Linked DNA regions of Homo sapiens: region 2 is linked to region 1. The links are contacts of gene promoters, found by promoter capture Hi-C in blood cells and fetal thymus (Javierre and others, 2016). All regions are on one chromosome and are shown on one strand. The core of a region is centred on a gene start or on the middle of the fragment in contact, and the rest is flanking DNA. Distances in the headings are between cores, read along the strand shown. Region 1 holds the start of DSC3 (desmocollin 3). Region 2 overlaps DSG4 (desmoglein 4).

Region 1 (3,417 bases), core at 525-3,024:
TTCTCATGTCCTGTTGATGTTGTGTTATCTTGAAGCATTCTCCTACCCTTTCCCTTTTCTTTGCTGGGCTTATCGCAACATTTTGCTTCTTCAAAGCTTTCTTCAGCTAAGTTAGATCCTCTCCTCTAAAATGCCTTAACACCTCAACCCTTCACTCTAACAGTGAATTCAAAGTGGTGAGGGAGGGAGATTGGTGCTAGCCATCTCCTTTACTCATCTAAGTTCAAGAAAACCATTCTACTTGAGTTTCTGAGGGCTGGGGGGCTGGAAGTGACTTTGAGAAGCTTTCTCTGAGGTCATGCTGGAGGCACGTGGAGGATGGGAGGTGAAAACCCTGGAGTGGAGAGAAGTTTGGAGAACTTTCTCTGAGACTGGAAGAGCTCTTACATACAGAGACCTCCACTGACGGGTGCCTGGGAGATTCACACTGGGAAGCTCAACTTAGAGTGTCTGAGCCCTTAAAGCTGAGCCTCATGAGTTTCAGGGAAGCCCCAGACTTCAGGGAATACATGGCTTAGACGACGAGGAGTCTATTAGACTTGAGCCAGAGTGAGATGAATGAAGGTCATAACACCCTTTCATGATTAATTGGCTGTCTGAAATTCCCGACCTTGCAACTTTTGAATGGACTTCGAGGAGTAGCATCTCATGTCTGAGAGGGATTTCCTCCTGAATCCAGTAGATGGGAACTCGGGGAACTTAAAATTCAGTTTAGGGAGAAATAAGAGGATGTCCCCCTGGTGTTACAAACGACATCTCTATTAAAAAGTGTAGCCTACTGGGCTAGGAATGATTGTCTTTCGTCCCTTTCTGACTTTGAATTATTTCCGACAGGAACTAGATTTTCTGCATTTCCTTTCTTCCATGCCCTCACACAAAGCTTGGCCGACTTCGGGCCCTGATAAATAGTCGTTGCATGATGTAGAATCTGTAAGCCTCGTTTTAGAAGGTTTTGTGTGGTAGATATTCCTTTGACCACCTGAAAAATTTCATTTTGGTACCAGTAAGTAGTAAACCAATAATTCACATCTAAGAACAAAGTCGTTTTTAGAAGGTTCATATGAGTCCCCCAAACTGACAGTTAATAGAGCGCTGAGTGTAATCACTCATATTTTGGGTGCGTAAAAATGGTTAGATTAGAATTTCTTAAATTTGGTTTTAATTTCTGACATGCCAAAAACTGTTTATCATGCCATCTGGGATAAATTCCTTCTGTCGTGTATTTTGTCATGTTAGTCAAATCCGGAGAGAATACAGTACATGTATTTTGCTTTAATCTGAAAACATTGGCAGAATTTGTTCAGACGTCGAAGGGGAGATCCGCTGATCCAATGACAAGGGTGTTCCTGGCATCCAGCAGAGCCCGTGTCGAGGCAGGGATCCCTGCGGGCGGATTGGGGTTCTGCATTGAGATGCACCGCGCAGCGCCGGCGATGGGGCCGCCCTGGGACGATCTGGGCTGCCAGGGCCTCTCTGCGGGCCGGGCGGGGCGGCAGCGCCGCGGGGCAGCCGAGGGGCGTGGGAGAACTGGCAGAGGGTGCGCCAGAGACCGCTTTCCCGAGCGCGAACGCCCGGGTGGCTGCTGGGGAGCAGAGGGGCAGGCTCGGGCAGCTCCTCAGCCGCGCCGGCGATGATAAAACTTGAGAAATAACAAGGAGTGGCCTCTCCGCGTCCTCTGGGTCCAATCCGGTTTCAGAAGTGAAGTTGCTCCCGGGCAGGCAAGCCTGAGAGAGGCCAAATACACTTAAAAACAAGCAGCGGCGAGAAAAGCACCTCCCGCGCCCTGCACCTCGGCAGGTCTCGCTCTCGGCACCCTCCCGGCGCCCGCGTTCTCCTGGCCCTGCCCGGCATCCCGATGGCCGCCGCTGGGCCCCGGCGCTCCGTGCGCGGAGCCGTCTGCCTGCATCTGCTGCTGACCCTCGTGGTAAGCCAGATCTCGCCGGATAGGGCTGGGGTGGGGACGGGGGTGGATCCGCCCTGGACGCTGCACGGAGCTGGGGACAAAGCGGGCCGAAACGTGACAACCGCGGCTCAGATCAATGCTGCGGGTCTGGTAGCAGCCCCAAGTTCGGGCCTGCAGGAGTGAGGAGAGAAAACGTGTGTTTGCGGGTCGACTCTGGACTGAGCTTTTTGTTTTGAGACAAGGTGTTCGATTGTTGGAATTCTGAGTCGCGCTCAGGCTTCGCTGCGCTCTGGCGGGCGCCGTCGCGGGTTGGGCAGGGGGTTGGGATTCACGCTTCTCCCCAGGTGGTGGAGCTGGTGGTGATGGTGGTTGGAGGGCGCCTTTGGGTGGAGAGGATCCCTGAGAGCTCAAAGCACAGACTTGAAAAGGGATTTAGGGGCTGCCCCCTCCCCAGCTCTGGGTCGCAGTTGACCCGGATTGGTTCGTTAGTGAGTGGAGCCGGGGCTGTGTCCCTGGGTCCCTTGGTGGGGCTGCCCCTGAGAAGTGGGTTTCTCGGTATCTCCCCTAAAGGGTATTCAGAAGCTCACCCAAGCGGTCCACCCCCGCCAGCCACCCAGCTGGGGGCGGGATGTGCCGGGGGCGCGAAAGTGTGGGAAGACCGGGCCAGAATGGGGGTTGGGGTCGTGTTGTGTTTTGGGGATGCTGCCGAGGTGTGGAGGCGGGTAGAGGGTGACAGTGGTGGGGGATGATGGATGCGGTGGGGTTGCGTCGTACTTACTCCGGCTCCGGGGAGGACTGCGCGGCCGGAGCACAGCCTGGGGTTTCGAGTCTACGGAAACCTGCCGCCCAGGACGAAATCCTCTAGGAGAGGAAGTTAGAGACGATGCTCTGAGAACACGGGAGACTTGAAGTGTTCGGAACTCTGGCGGCGCGGTTACACGCGAAGCTTCAGGCTTCAACAGAGTTTCATTCCGCACGCCCAGAAAGGAGCCGCGGACCCGCGACTTACCCGCATCCATGGATGCGCATGGGGTCCGATGGGAGCGAGGTCTATACCCGCGTCGGCAGTGAGCCGAGTCTGGTCTCGCGGATTCTTACTGCTTCCTGGCCCTCCACCCTGGCAAGTGGGAGTGGGTCCAAGGGTTGTCCTCCCTTAAGGTCAGCGAGGTATGAATATGGGATTGGTAGTTATGATCTACGATATGTTTATGGAGAAGGAATTGGACAAATAAGCGCATCCATTTGCCCGGGAACTGTTCCAACAAAGTATCTGAGCTTATGAAGTGACTACAAATGGAAACGGCTTAGAGAATGTGTTCTTTTGTAATATATTTAAAAGCATTTTCAGCTTTTCAGTTTACAAGCATGCATTTGGGGTTTTGTGTTTCCTTTGCGAAGGGATTGAGGATGGGGAACGAAACTACGGGTGCTGCTCTCAGAATTTCTCGCATTCGCTCGAGGCTCCCAGAGGCCATGGAAGACCAGGAGCTTTCCCGGCAAGGCATGGGTGGGGG
Region 2 (3,417 bases), core at 654-3,153, 370 kb before region 1:
GGTGAAATTCATGTATGAACAGATGGAGAATAAAGCAGGCCGACTGAAATATGAGATAAAATTCTAGTTCTATTTTAGTTCTTTTAAAATGTGTAATAAATTATTGTTAACTATAGCAATCCTGTTGTGCTACCAAATACTAGATCTTCTTCATTCTAACAGTATTTTTGCACCTATTAACCATCCCACTGTTTCCCCTCCCTACTACCCTTGTCAGCCTCTAGTAACCATCATTCTACTCTCTATCTCCATGAGTTCGGTTTTTCCTTTTAGCTTCCACAGATGAGTGAGAACATGTCAAATTAGTCTTTCTGTGCCTGGCATATTTCACTTAACAGTGTCCTCCAGTTCCATCCATGTTGTTGCAAAATGACAAAATTTCATTTTTTATGGCTGAATAATATTCCATTGGGTATATGAATCACATTTTAGAAGTCCAATCATCAGTTGATGGACACAGGTTGATTCCATGTATTGGCTACGTGACTAGTGCTGCAATAAACATGGGGGTGCATATATTTCTTTGATATACTGATTTCCTTTCTTTTGGATATATACCCAGCAGTGCTATTGCTGGACCCCTTTTCGTAGTGAAGGTCAGTTGGTGGATAAGTCACTGGACTGAGAATAGGAGAGCTATCTTCTAGGTCTTAATCTAGCACGAGTTGTGGTGATGCTGCGTTCCTGAGTTTTAACTCCTTTCGTTCCCAATTCTTTTTATTTTCTCTTTTCTGTTGGAGGCTCCGGGAGAACATGAAGGACATCAAAAACAGAGGTCATAAATGCACCTTTTTTCCCCTTGATGAGCATTTTCCTGCTTTGCTACTGCTGTGGGAAACAAGGTGAGGAATCAAGGAAACAAAAGATAGAAAAATGGAAAAGGGAAGTGGAGAATGATGAGGGGTGTGGCCTTGTTCACGGTACTAAGATGCGCTATGGCAGTTGAATATGAAATCCTGTGGCAAATTAGCATTTTGTGTTTTAAGGAGACGTGAAATACTTTTTATTCAGGTTTGGGATAGGGTTGAGAATAACAGCATATTTCCGAAGAGGCCTACTACCATTGTGAGTATTTTACTATTATTATTATTCAATCTCAAGACGATTTTATGTGTGACTGTGAGGGCATTACCTCCGAGAAGTAGCTGTCCAAGAAAGCCATGTTGATGTCTGCGTCAGCGTAGTCCCGCAGGGTTCCCATGGTAGAGCTCCTCTTCCTTGCGGCCCCTGAGGCTCCTGCGGCCCCTGCGGCCATGAGGCCAACGGCTGTCCCCATACCTGTGTTGAGCTCCACTCCCGATACACCTCCTTCCACCGTGCCCCCGGCTGCATAGGTGTTGGTGTAGATTTCTGAAAAGGGAGGATGTTGGTTTAACAGCGCTGGAGTTGCCTGCAGCGCGCATCTGCCTAAAACGCTGCCGCCGCCGTCTGCGGTGCCACCACCACCCGGCAAGGCGTAGGCGCTAAAAAGCTGACAAAGAGAGATACAAGTTACACCGATACATCTCCAGGCTTGTTGACCAAATAAAAGTAAATTAATTACACAGAGGGAGTCAGTGGTGGGACGTGGCCTTCCCACATTTGCACAGACTTCGCCCTAGACTTAAAGGTGTAGAACTAGCCAAGAGAACTACAAGCAGGCGCCCGTTCCCGCCGTGGCTGCTGCGGGCTTGATCCAGCCGGGAGCCCTCCAAAGCAAGGCCAGCGGCGTGATTGCAGAAACTGAGCTCATAGTCCTCCTTCACTCCGGAACAGGATGGAGCTGGGCTCACAGGGATGTTCAGTCACGGAGTTTCTTTGCATACAAAGGGCCAAGCTTGGGATACTAAGGAACCATCAGAGAAAGCTCACGTGCACTGCAGAATTAAGCACCCTCTCTGTTTGGTGCAATCATTGCCATATAGCTAAGTAGTGTGTTCAGTATTGTTAGATATGCGTGGGGCTGGTAAGATAGGAGAGTTTACGACACTCTTTTGAGGCAAAAGCTTGTCTGAAGTTAAGAAAAGTTATTCAGTGTATTATTAGAGTACATTTACTGCCTTTTCTTTAGCTCTTTAAAAAAAAACAGCTTGTATTATAAATAATTACTACAGTGCCAGGCACTACTCTAACGTATATTTTGTGATATATGTATATATACACACTTATATATGTGTGTGTGTATATATATAGACACACATACACATGTATGTTATATATAATAAAATAATCTATACAATATATGTATGTATTATATATTACATATGTAATATGTATTATTTACTCCTCACAGCAACACTTTAAAGTAGGTACTATCATAAGCTCAATTTTAAAGATAAGGAAACTGAGGCCCAGTGAGGTTAAATGTCTTGACTAAGGACTTATTACTACAGGTTGAGCATCCCAAATCCAATAATCAAGAATCCAAAATGCTCCTAAGTCTGAAACTTTTTGATCATCATGGTACAAAAAGTTTGAGCCAAACTCAAACTCATGGTCCTATGCATTTCGGATAAAAGATATGCAACCCTTAAGCAAGTGGCAGAGCTGGGAATCAAACCCAAGCATTCTGCTTCCAGAGTTTGCTCTTTTAACTGCTGTGTCATACTTCACTGTCTGTAGTTTCAGATAGAAAAAAAAAGTGGCTACTTCAAACAGGTCACATTCCCTCTAATTATACTGTCACCCAAAGAGACTGACAGACTTTTCCATAAGGTACTTTTACATGAAGTTGGTCTGGTTGAATAATTTTGAAAAATTTAAAAGGAAAAACAGATTTTGGTGTCTACTGACCAGAGGAATCCATCCGATCCTGGGTATTTGAGGCTGTCATGGGTGCACATATATTTGACACATCCTGAAAAGAAAAATAAACATTTTAAAAACAAACGCTTTATGTTAAACATTTAAAAACTGACATCTGTTCATTTTTGTGCAGCATGTAATTGTTAAGACATGCTCAATTTCCACTGAAACTCCACACTTCTCTGGAGAGTGACAGTCCACTTACCCTGTCCTCGGGATGGGCCCCTTCAATTCTCCAAGACTGCATCACTCCTTCTCCGCCCTCAGGCACAGGAGCAAATCTTGTTCCCAGGCCTTCTGGCTGTCTCTGTTTGCAGCAACACAGGAGCAGCAAGAGTGGAGCCACTGCCCAAGAAAGTGACAATGTCGAGTTAACACACATTGCTCGGTTTAGGAAGTCACTGGATGAATCATTCTGGGGAGCATTTGGTGGCAGTATATTTAGAACAAAAATACAAATATATGTAAGAAAATCTCATTTTTTTCCTTTAGGGGATTGAGTATACATATCCAAGTTTATAAATACAGCACCACCAAATCACATAGAACTTTAGCGCTAGATGGCAAGGAGTTTGCGATCAGGTAATTGAATTTCTTTGCTGACAGATTAGGAAAGTAAGGTCGTCTTTAGTC

What was found. Contacts are between HindIII fragments. The CHiCAGO score rates a contact against its expected background, and 5 or more counts as called.
Region 2: a fragment that was not itself captured here is called in contact with the fragment with the promoter of DSC3 in region 1 in 1 of 17 cell types (M0 macrophages); the score reaches 5.0 in M0 macrophages.

What each region holds. Positions count from the first base shown.
Region 1 is chr18:31,041,099-31,044,515 of GRCh38, reverse strand. It overlaps DSC3 (desmocollin 3), which reads left to right and starts at 1,774. Exons shown (of 16, transcript NM_001941.5): 1 at 1,774-1,924. The coding sequence starts at 1,856. LOC124904345 (a long non-coding RNA gene) reads right to left here and starts at 2,983. Exons shown (of 2, transcript XR_007066445.1): 1 at 2,682-2,983; 2 at 1-2,074. The HindIII fragment of the contact is 1,969 bases long and covers 883-2,851 here.
Region 2 is chr18:31,409,164-31,412,580 of GRCh38, reverse strand. It overlaps DSG4 (desmoglein 4), which reads right to left. Exons shown (of 16, transcript NM_177986.5): 13 at 2,990-3,129; 14 at 2,773-2,836; 15 at 1,133-1,350. All of the region lies in intron 1 of DSG1-AS1 (DSG1 antisense RNA 1), which reads left to right. Among named protein-coding and RNA genes, the nearest start is that of DSG1-AS1, 16 kb to the left of the region's middle. The HindIII fragment of the contact is 169 bases long and covers 1,819-1,987 here.